2 separate regions of the Homo sapiens genome follow, and region 1 is linked to region 2. Evidence: promoter capture Hi-C in 16 types of primary human blood cells and fetal thymus (Javierre and others, 2016). All regions are on one chromosome and are shown on one strand. Each heading gives the region's core, a stretch centred on a gene start or on the middle of the fragment in contact. The rest is flanking DNA. Distances are from core to core; before and after follow the strand shown.

Region 1 (5,375 bases), core at 200-2,699, 260 kb before region 2:
AGGATTGCTTGAGCCCAGGAGCTGGAGCGAGCCTGCAGCGAGCCATCATTGTGCTGCTGGACTCCAGCCTGGGGAACATAGTGAGTTCTTGCCTCAAAGGAAAAAAAAAAAAAAGGTGGCCGGGTGCGGTTGCTCACGCCTGTAATCCCAGCACTTTGGGAGGCCGAGGCGGGCGGATCACCTGAGGTCAGGAGTTTGAGACCAGCCTGACCAACATGGTGAAACCCCGTTTCTCCAAGTGAAATACAGAAATTGGCTGGGTGTGATGGCGGGAACCTGTAATCCAGCTACCAGATCAGTCTCCTACAGCAGGTCCATGTCATTATGCTTCCCCTAAACCTACCACTCTGGAGAAAGCCTGATGGGGAAGTAAATGGATCATACCTGAGTGTCCGGAGGGTGCCACTGGAACATGTCAAGGTTTCAAACAGCATCTTCACTCCACTAGACCCCAAGGGATTCTGACCCAGGTCCAGAGTGACGAGGCTCTGGTTGCAGCTGAGGGCAGAGCAGAGGTCTTCACAACTGAACGGAGGGATGGAACATCCCCACAACCTGGGGAAACACAGAAATCAACACGTTAATGCAGCCAGTGCTGATCGATGCCCTCCGGCAAGCCAAGCCCACCCTCGTGTGTTGGGGATCTGCATGACCAACAGAAGTCTCAGGCCGGGCACGGTGGTTCACGCCTGTAATCCCAGCACTTTGGGAGGCCGAGGTGGATGGATCACCTGAGGTCAAGGAGTTCAAGACCAACCTAACATGGTAAAACCGTGTCTCTACTAAATATACAGAAGTTAGCTGGGCGTGGTGACAGGCACCTGTAATCCCAGCTACTCAGGAGGCTGGGGCAGGAGAATCGCTTGAACCCAGGAGGCGGAGGTTGCAGTGAGCCGAGATCGCGCCATTGCACTCCAGCCTGGGTGACAGAGTGAGACTCCGGTCTCAAAAAACAAACAAAACGTCTCCGCCCTCAGGGCTCATCTGCTAACAGGAAAATATGGAGGCGATGAGGGGTTCTGAAGGGCAAGGGGTACAGGGAATAACTGGGGGTTCTGGCTACAATGGTTGGAGGTGAGGGGGTGAAGAGACCGAGTCATAGAGCTCGGGGGGGAGTTCTCCAGGCAGAGAAATAGCTTGTGCAGAGGCCCTGAAGATACATGTGACTGACACGTAAAATAGAACATCCAGGCAGCGGGCATGAGTGAGACAGGGAGGATTGTCAAGATGAGGTCATAGGTAAGCAGTGGCCAGCTCACAGAAGACCCTGAAGCCATCGTCAATATAGGATTTTACCTGGATTGACATAGGGAAGCACTGAGGCTTTTGAGCAGAGAGGTTAAATAACTTCCATCTTTGAAGTTATTCTTTGAGACAGTCTTGCTCTCTCGCCAGGGCTGGAGTGCTGTGGCATGATCTCGGCTCACTGTAGCCTCTGCCTCCTGGATTCAAGCAGTTCTCGTGCCTCCAAGTAGATGAGATTATAGCTATGTGCCACCATGCCTGCCTGATTTTTGTGGTTTTAGAGAGACAGGGTTTCACCTGTCTCTTTAGTAGAGACAGGCTGGTCTACGAACTCCTGACCTTAGGTGATCCACCTGCCTCGGCCTCCCAAAGTGCTGGAATTACAGGCATGAGCCACTGCACCCTGCCACTTTATTTTTTGAAACACGGTCTCACTCGGTTGCCCAGGCTGGAGTGTGGTAACGCCATCTTGGCTCACTGCAGCCTTGACCTCCTGGGCCAACCAGCAACTCAAACTTTTTGCTCCTCTACACGTGTCAGTGAGTGATTAAAAAGGCGCCTTTGTTTTTTTTGTTTTTTTTTTTTTTTTGAGACAGGATCTCACTGTCACCCAGGCTGGAGTGAGGTGACGTGATCTCAATTCGCTGTAACTTCTTCCTCCCAGGCTCAAGTGATCCTCCCACCTCAGCCTCCTGAGTAACTGGGAGCAGAGGTACACAGCCATGCTCAGCGGATTTTTGTACTTTCAGTAGAGACAGGGCTTCATTGTGTTGGCCAGGCTGTTTTTAAATTCTTGGCCTCAAGCAATCTACCTGCCTTGGACTCCCAAAATGCCAGGATTACAGGCATGAGCCACCTTGCCCATCCCGAGTCAAATTCTTTTAAGATTGCCTCCCAGATAGGATTCCAGGTTCAAGTGCATCTGATTGTAGCTAACTCACAAGGTATTTGTAAGATAGCCAAGTTGAGACCACTCACCTGCTGATAGAGCCAGCATTTTCTGGCACGATATCTAATTCCTACCTCTTTTTTATTTTTTCCTGAGATGGAGTCTTGCTCTTGTAGCCCAGGATGGAGTGTAGTGACAGGATCTCAGCTCACTGCAACCTCTGCCTCCAGGGTTCAAGTGATTCTCCTGCCTCAGCCTCCCAAGTAGCTGGGATTAAAGGCACCTACTGGCTGGGCACGGTGGCTCTCACCTGAGGTCCGGAGGTCGAGACCAGCCTGACCAACATGGAGAAACCCCGTCTATACTAAAAATACAAAATTAGCCAGGCATGGTGGCACATGCCTGTTTATTTGCAGCTATGTGGGAGGCTAAGGCAGGAGAATCACTTGAACCCAGGAGGTGGAGGTTGCAGTGAGCTGAGATCGCGCCATTACACTACAGCCTGGGCAACAAGAGTGAAACTATCTCAAAAAAAAAAAAAAAAAAAAAAGAGGCACCCACTACTATGCTCGGCTAATTTTTATATTTTAGTAGAGATGGAGTTTCAAGTTGGCCAGGCTGGTCTTGAGCTCCTGACCTTAAGTGATCCGCCCGCTTCGGCCTCCCGAAGTGCTGGGATTACAGGTATGAGCCACTGTGCCTGGCCCAATTCCCACCTCTCTGAATGTGGGGTGCTGGGCAGTGGCTTTTGGCTGAATGGCTTGAGGCACTGTATCCTTAAAATTTCACAGGTGTTCTTTGCATGACACAGACTAGAACTTAGACATAGGGCCTGGCGCAGTGGCTCACGCCTGTAATCCCAGCACTTTGGGAGGCCGAGATGGGCGGATCACCTGAGGTCAGGAGTTTGAGATGAACCTTCAACATGGCGAAACCCTGTCTCTACTAAAAATACAAGAATTAGCTGGGCATGGTGGCGGGCGCCTGTAATCCCAGCTACTCGGGAAGCTGAAGCAAGAGAATTGCTTGAACCTGGGAGGCGGAGGTTGCAGTGAGCCAAGATCACGCCACTGCACTCCAGCCTATGTGACAAGAGCAAAACTTCAAGAAAAAAAAAAACAAAAACTTAGACATAGACTAGAACTTATTCCTTTAACCATCCTAGTAAATGCTCGATCGACTCTATAAAGGTCCTCTCAATTATATAACTTGGGAAGTCGGCTTCACTGATTATTTTACACTAGCCACAGATTCAGTAAGGTGTAAGTATAGGAAGTTGAACTTATAAGTTAACTCACCACAGACATCTCAAGTTGCACAGTGGTTTCCTCAAAGCCTCACACAGGAACTTCATTCCCTTAACTCCTATGTGATTCAGCCCCAGATCCAAACACAACAGGCTTGATTTTTCTTGGAGAAGCTTTGTGAGATCGCAGCAGCCATCGCTAGTTATGTCGCAGTTCCAAAGCCTAGAAATCAACCACAGGAAGAAAGCAAACCCGAACCTGTGAGTTCTCACTGCTGTGATGCACCTTTGACTCTTGAGCCGTGGGTTAGACACACTTAGAGACAGTGGTGACATGGAAATGGAATCATGGGGTGGTGTGGTGGACAGAAGAATGGCCTCCCCTAAAGATGTCCAAGTCCCAACTCCTGGCACCTGCGAGCAAAAGGGACCTCGTAGAGGTGACTGAGCATCTTAAGATGGTTTATATCCTGGTTTATTTGGGTAGGTCCAGCAATCACAGGGATCCTCATAAGAGGGAGCTGAGAGTCAAAGCCAGCAGGAGGTGACGTGATAAGGGAGCCAGGGCAACGTTTGAAGATGCTCTGCCGAAGTTGGAGGAAGGGCCACAAGCCAAGGAATGCAGGTGGCCAACAGAAGTTGGAGAAGTAAAAAGGATTCTCAGCTGGCACGGTGGCTCACTTCAACCTCCGCCTCCTGGTTTCACGCGATTCTTGTGCCCCAGCCTTCCGAGTAGCTGGGATTACAGGGGGGTGTGTGTGTGTACACACATGCGCGTGCCACCACACCCAGCTAAGTTTTGTATTTTTAGTAGAGACAGGGTTTCCCCATGTTGGCCAGGCTGGTCTTGAACTCCCGACCTCAGATGATCTGCCCACCCTGGCCTCCCTAACATGCTGGGATTACGATTGTATTTGCTAAATTCAGTTGCTAGAGAGGTAGTGTCTTACAGGCAGAAGACACCAGCTCACACTCCAACATATCTGGTACTAGGATCCTAGATATTAACCAACACAGATTATCAGAGATATTTCACCTTAGCTCTGTTTTCTTTCTTCTGTCTCAATAGAGTTCTAAACTTAATTATAATTTGAACTATAATGCCCATGTATCTCTGGGTCCCAAGTGAAGCATACCACTAGCTGAGGGACACAGGACCTGGAAGGGCCTTGGAAATAGATGGCAGATTGGAGTCCATGACGATGGAGAAGTGAAAACACACCCCCAAATCTTGAAACTTTATGAATGTATAGAAACTTTTTTTTTTTTTTTTTTGAGACAGTCTCGCTCTGACACCCAGGCTGGAGTACAGTGGCACAATCTCAGCTCACTGCAACTTCCGCCTCCCAGGTTCAAGCAATTCTCTGCCTCACCCTCCCAAGTAAGCTGGGATTACAGGCTCCGACACCACGCCTGGCTAATTTTTGTATTTTTAGTAAAGACAGGGTTTCACCATGTTGGCCAGGCTGGTCTTGAACTCCTGACCTCATGATCCACCTGCCTCGGCCTCTCAAAGACCCTACCCGGCCTTCTAGAAACTTCCATGACTGTAATGGAGGAAAACCCACATAAGACTAAAGGGAAGTTGACAACTTAGCAAAATAGGGGCATGGATCAAAAAGTTGAATTGAGGGGGCCGGCACGGTGGCTCACACCTGTAATCCCAGCACTTTGGGAGGCTGAGGTGGGTGGATCACCTGAGGTCAGGAATTCGAGACCAGCTTGACCAACATGGTGAAAACTCGTCTCTACTAAAAATAAAGAAGTTAGCTGGGCGTGGTGGCATGCACCTTAATCCCTGGGAGGCTGAGGCAGGAGAATCACACCTGAACTCAGGAGGTGGAGGTTGCAGTGAGCTGAGATGGAGCCACTGCATTCCAGCCTGGGCGACAGAGCAAGACTATCAAAAAAAAAAAACCAAAAAAAAAAAAAAAAGAAAACCCCCCCCCCCCCAAAAAAATACCACACACACCACACACCACACACACACACAAC
Region 2 (5,636 bases), core at 2,822-5,321:
AGGTCTGTGAGCAAAGTCAGCATGGAGGGACACCTCTCTCTGGGACATGTCTGTCTGTCTGTCTCTTTTAACTCTTTCTGTCTTTTCTAACTCCCTGTATGGCCCCTGTGTCTGTCCTCTGTTATGACACCTGGTCTGTACTTGTGTCTCCTGTTTCTCTGTCTCTGTTGGTACAAACCTCAGCAAGTCAGTCTCTCTCCATAAGAATACCAAGCTCATCTTCCTTACAACTACCTGGGGGTTCCAAGTCGTGGATCATTCACTCTGCATCCCAATGACAATGAGAATGTCCGGACACTCTCACCTGTGATGACGATGTCCAGAGGGTCACTGGGAGCTGACAACTGATAGGGGGAGTGAGTAACAGAACCGTAGCATCTGTAGGTCCCTGCAAGGTCTTGCATCATGGGACCGATGGAGAAGTTGGCCTTGGAGACCCCATCATGGTGCTCTCCAATGAGGTGCAAAGTGTCCTTAAACTTCCCTTCTCTGTGCAGAAGGAAGTGCTGAAACCTGACATCTGACCAACATTGCAGGATGACTGTCTCTTCTGATTTCACCAGGGGACCTGGGTGGGCCAGGAGGGAAGGTTTTCTGTGGACTCCTAGGAAGAGAGGTTGTGAGTTTAGAAGGTGTCTCTCTTTATCATCCCATCCATGGCACCTAGAATGAGTGAGGCTTCCCCTTGCTGGTGTCTGTCTCTCTCCTTCCTCTCTGTGTCTTCATGTTCTTTTCTGTGCCCTTAACTCCTGGTGCAGGTCCTTCCATCTGTCTCCCTCCCTCTTCTCTGTCCCTCTGTCTCTAGTAGCCTCTGATTCCCTTCCCACTGGGCTGAGCCTCATCTCTTGGGGTGTTGTATCTATTTCACACTAATGTATTTCCTGCTGTTTATGTGGGGGTGAAAGAGGAACCAGGATAGGCTGCACATCCAGGCTCTTATCAGCCTGGTTCAATCTCTTTTGGATGAATTGCAATCCTTGGCAGAAGGTATGAACTGATGAATAAGGCAGGCACCAGTGTCCACACACCCTGTTCCTGGTGGGGACTGGGAGCCACTCTTGCCATGCCTGTGCCTTCTCCATGGTGCCAGCTTCCATAGGCTGGCTCCTGGTGCTGGTTGGAGGAGTATCAACCCCTCCCTATGTGGATGGAGCCTGGTGGTGGCATCATCATCCCACCCTTGCTGATCTCAGGGTAGCCAACCTTCTCCTTGTTTGGTTTCTTTAATTAATTAATTAATTATGGAGACAGAGTCTCACTCCTTCACCCAGGCTGGAGTGAAGTGGTGTGGTCTAGGCTCACTGCAACCTCTGTCTCCTGGGTTCAAGTGATTCTCCTGCCCTCAGCCTCCTGAGTCGCTAGGATTACATGCACCTGCCACCATGCCTGGCTTTCCTTGGGTTGTTTCTTAACTTGTCCTTGACCTGGGTTCCAGTGTTGGTTTCCTGTTGCTGCTGTAGAAAATTATCAGAAGCATGGCAGCAGGAGAGACCACACTGACACCTTCCAGTACTGGAGACAGAAATTGGACCCTATTTTTCCTGGGCTAAAATCAAGGCATCTGCAGGGCTTTGTTCCCTCTGGAGACTCTGGAGAATCAGTTCCTTGACTTTTCCAGCCTCTATAGGCCACCTGCATTCATGGATCTTGGCCTTCCTCCACCTTCAAAGCTGGTGAAGACTTCCACTGGACTGCTCTAATCCCCACTCCCCTCTTCCTCCTCCTTTCATGTGCACCCTTGTGATTACACTGAGCCCAGTGGGACAGTCCAGGCTGTCTCCCCATGAGCTCCATCTTCCCCTTCAGTCCCTTCCCCTATAACATAAATAGTCACAGACTCCAGGGATTAGAATGTAGTCATCACTGGGGACAATTATTCTTCCCACCACAGCACCCATTTCCCTGTATTCAATCCCCCTTTACCACAAATACAGTCAGGGCCTGCGTGATGGGACCCTCAAGGACATGCCCAACAGAAGCTCTGGGATTCAGGAGGTGGGACAAGGAGAATCCAAGACAGGAGCCCTCTGACCTATGACCACGATCACCAGGGGGTTGCTGGGTGCTGACCACCCACTGGGGGAGTGTGTGTGTGAACCCCGACATCTGTATGTCCCTGTGTGTGCGGGGGTCACAGGGCCCATGAAAAGGCTGTTCCAGAATATTCTGTTGTAGAGCTCAGGGACAGGCACCCCACCTTCCTTTTACAGACTGAAGTTGTTAAACCCAAGATAAGAGTGACACCGAAGAATGACATGTCCTAGAGGCACCACAAGGCTGGGCCAGGCAGACAGCAAGGGCTTGTCCTGACCACCTTGGGGAGAAGGAGGCGCCGCCTTAGAGAGGAGGATGTGGAACTGCCCTTCCCTCCCTGTGCTCAGAAGATTCTCCTCGCTTTCCACGTTTCTATGGCTACTATCACACCTTGGTGCCCAGGGCTGAAGGAAGGACCCATCCCGCAAAGACATGGTGTCTCCCTACAACAAAAGCCTCAGCTGAGAACTTTGAGCAAGTGCTGAGTAAAGAGACTCCTACTAGATTTTAATACTGTAAGATTACTCACATAAAACAACACAGGGTAGACATGAGGTGGAGGGCATGTCCTTTGTGAATGGATATCAGCGGATGCCTGAACGAAAATAAACAACTGAGCCCCCATCAGAGGATTTGGAATGTCAGGGCCATGGCTGTGGTTTCCCACCTCTTCTGGTAGAATGACAGCAGCCACACTGCAGCCCCTACCATCATGGAAACGCTGAAGTGTGTGAGTAACACCTTTGTCCTCAGAGGATCTGCTGTTCCTACCACTTCCCAACCACACACCCCAGCTTTGAGCACCCCAGTCTAACCCTGGTCCCCACAGAACTTGACTCTGCCAAGGGGTTGAGAGGCCAGGGAGGCGAGGTCAGAAATGTGGGCTGAGCACCCCAGGGTCCTCTCTTCCTAGTTTATGAGAGACTCCCCGACAGGACTTCCCTCCTGTTTCAGGAAAATCCTCTTATGTGGGGAGATGACACCCGAAGGTTTGGAGAAGGACTCACCCTCATGTGGCCAGGCCCCCTGCAGCAAGAAGAACCCTGGAAAGAAAGATCATGATGGACCATCCATCTGCAGGCAAACCAGGCCTCCCTTGCTGCCCCCACTGGGCTGTGAGTCTTGGCAGCCAGGCCCTTCCTGGGCTGAAGTTAAACTCACCCTCAGTGCCTACCTGCACCCAAGAACAGGGCTGTCGGCTGTGCAGAGACCCAGTTTCCAGGCCCATATCCCCACCCCAAGCCCATATCTCCACTCCAGGCTGATATTTCCACCCTAGGCCCATATCGCCAATCCAGGCTCAGATCTCCACCCTAGGCCCCTATCTCCAATCCAGTCCCATATCTCCGCCCCAGGCCCAGATCTCCACCCTAAGCCCATATCTCCACTCCAGGCCCATATCACCTCTCCAGTCCCATATCTCCACACCCAGGCCCATATCTCCTTCCTAGGCCCATATCTCCACTCCAGGCCCAGATATCCACCTCTAGGCCCATAACTCCACTCCTGGCCCATATCTCCACTCCAGGCCCATATCTCTACTGCAGGCCCGTATCTCCACCTCCAGACCCATATCTCCACTCCAGGCCCATATCTCCACCTCCAGGCCCATATCTCCACCTCCAGGCCCATATCTCCACTCCAGGCCCATATCTCCACTCCAGGCCCATATCTCCACTCCAGGCCCCTATCTCTACTGCAGGCCCATATCTCCATCTCCAGGCCCATATCTCCATCTCCAGGCCCATGTCTCCACTACAAGCCCATATCTCTACTGCAGGCCCATATCTCAACCTCCAGGCCCATATCTCCACTCCAGGCCCAGATCTCCACTCCAGGCCCAGATCTCCACTTCTAGGCCCATCACTCCATCTCTAGGCCCATAACTCCACTTCCAGGCCTATATCTCCAACTCTGGGCCCCGATCTCCATCCCCGCACTCCCTCCCTCGATGCCCTTCCAGGACTCACCAACACACACCATGCTGACGACCATGAGCGACATGGTGCTGTCTGTGCAGACAGGCGGCCGCGCCCCAGCTCAGCTCAGCAGCGCACAGGATGTTATTTGGCGCCCTGCCCATGCAGTTTACATGTTGACCACATCATGGGAGGGTGACGTACGCAGGCTCTTTCTACCTTGCATGAGGCCCAGTGGGTGCTCGCTCAAGAGCGGAACATGGCTTCCTGGAAATTGTTCTCACTAGAATTGACACCTTGCGTCCTTCACTACGACCAGACTCAAAAGACGTCTCAGATCCAACCTCTCATACACGAGATGATTGAATTCTGTGCTTACATTAAAGATTTTTGATGTATTTTTGTTTTTATCTGAGATTCAAACTCTTCTTCATATGTAATGTGCAAAATGTCTAACAGGTATTATTAACATTATCAGAGTAATTGTGACAAGAAGCCATTCTAATTTTCCTGCTTGAGTTTCTACTACTAAACCAGAGGCATCAGAATAGCTTGAACCTGGGAGACGGAGGTTGCAGTGAGCTGAGCTCAAGCCACTGAACTCCAGCTTGGGTGACAGAGGAAGAGTCTGTCTCAAGAAAAAAAAAAAAAGCAAACTAAATAACCTATAATAACAAATCAGAGGACTCAGGTTACCAAATTTTAAGGGGTTCTATAAGTTTATATAAAATGCAGCATCCTCATGAGAGGGGATACAGAGAACCACTGGACAGAAAACTGTGTCTAAAATACATCTGTGGATACACAGTCCCTTTATAGTTGACAAAGGCTGCCATGTAGTTTAAGGTGGAATAGAATATTTTCTCAACAAATAACACAGGACCATAGGGTTACACGTAGGAAAAAATAAATCTAAACTTATCCTCACACTATAAAAACACTTCTTATTTTTTATCTTGTTGTTGTAAATTTTTTATGCTTTATTTTTAAGATTGACAAATAAAAATTATATACCATGGTCCTTCACTATACCTGGGTGATTGGTTCCAGGATCCCCATTCAGATACCAAAATCTGCAGATGCTCAAGCCCCTTGCATGAAATGGCATAGTGAAGCTGGGCACCGTGGCTCACGCCTGTAATCCCAGCACTTTGGGAGGCTGAGCTGGGTAGATCACAAGGTCAGGAGTTCAAGACCAGCTGGTCCAACATTCTGAAACCCCATCTCTACTAAAAATATACACACAAAAAAATTTATCTGTGCATGGTGGCACGTGCCTGTAATCCTAGGGGAGGCTACTGGGGAGGCTGAGGGAAGAGAATCGCTTGAACCTGGAAGGCGGAGGTTGCAGTGAGTTGAGATCACGCCACTGCACTCCAGCCTGGGTGAGAGAGTGAGACTGTCTCAAAAAAAAAAAAAAAATAGCATAGCAATTGCATAGAACCCATGCACATCCTCCTGTATACATGAAATCATCTCTTGATTACTTATAATTCCTGACACAGCCTACACGCCACTCAATTTGTGTCGATTCAACATAGTTTTTTGCTTTTTGAAACTTCGGGGATTTTTTTTCTCAAAATATTTTTGATTTATTGCTGATTCAATAAACATGTGTAAACCCCAGAGATATGGAGGAGTGACTGTCTATTTATAGTAGTATGAAAGATGATGTGTTGATAC

What was found. The method cuts DNA at HindIII sites, captures the fragments that hold promoters and counts their contacts. A CHiCAGO score of 5 or more calls a contact.
Region 1: a fragment that was not itself captured here is called in contact with the fragment with the promoter of KIR2DL3 in region 2 in 1 of 17 cell types (M1 macrophages); the score reaches 5.1 in M1 macrophages.

The regions. Positions count from the first base shown.
Region 1 is chr19:54,992,497-54,997,871 of GRCh38, reverse strand. It overlaps NLRP2 (NLR family pyrin domain containing 2), which reads right to left. Exons shown (of 13, transcript NM_017852.5): 11 at 3,433-3,603; 12 at 385-555. Among named protein-coding and RNA genes, the nearest start is that of GP6-AS1, 11 kb to the left of the region's middle. The HindIII fragment of the contact is 4,215 bases long and covers 1-3,556 here.
Region 2 is chr19:54,736,948-54,742,583 of GRCh38, reverse strand. KIR2DL3 (killer cell immunoglobulin like receptor, two Ig domains and long cytoplasmic tail 3) reads right to left here and starts at 4,071. Exons shown (of 8, transcript NM_015868.3): 1 at 4,005-4,071; 2 at 3,042-3,077; 3 at 305-604. The coding sequence starts at 4,038. The HindIII fragment of the contact is 12,642 bases long and covers 1-5,636 here.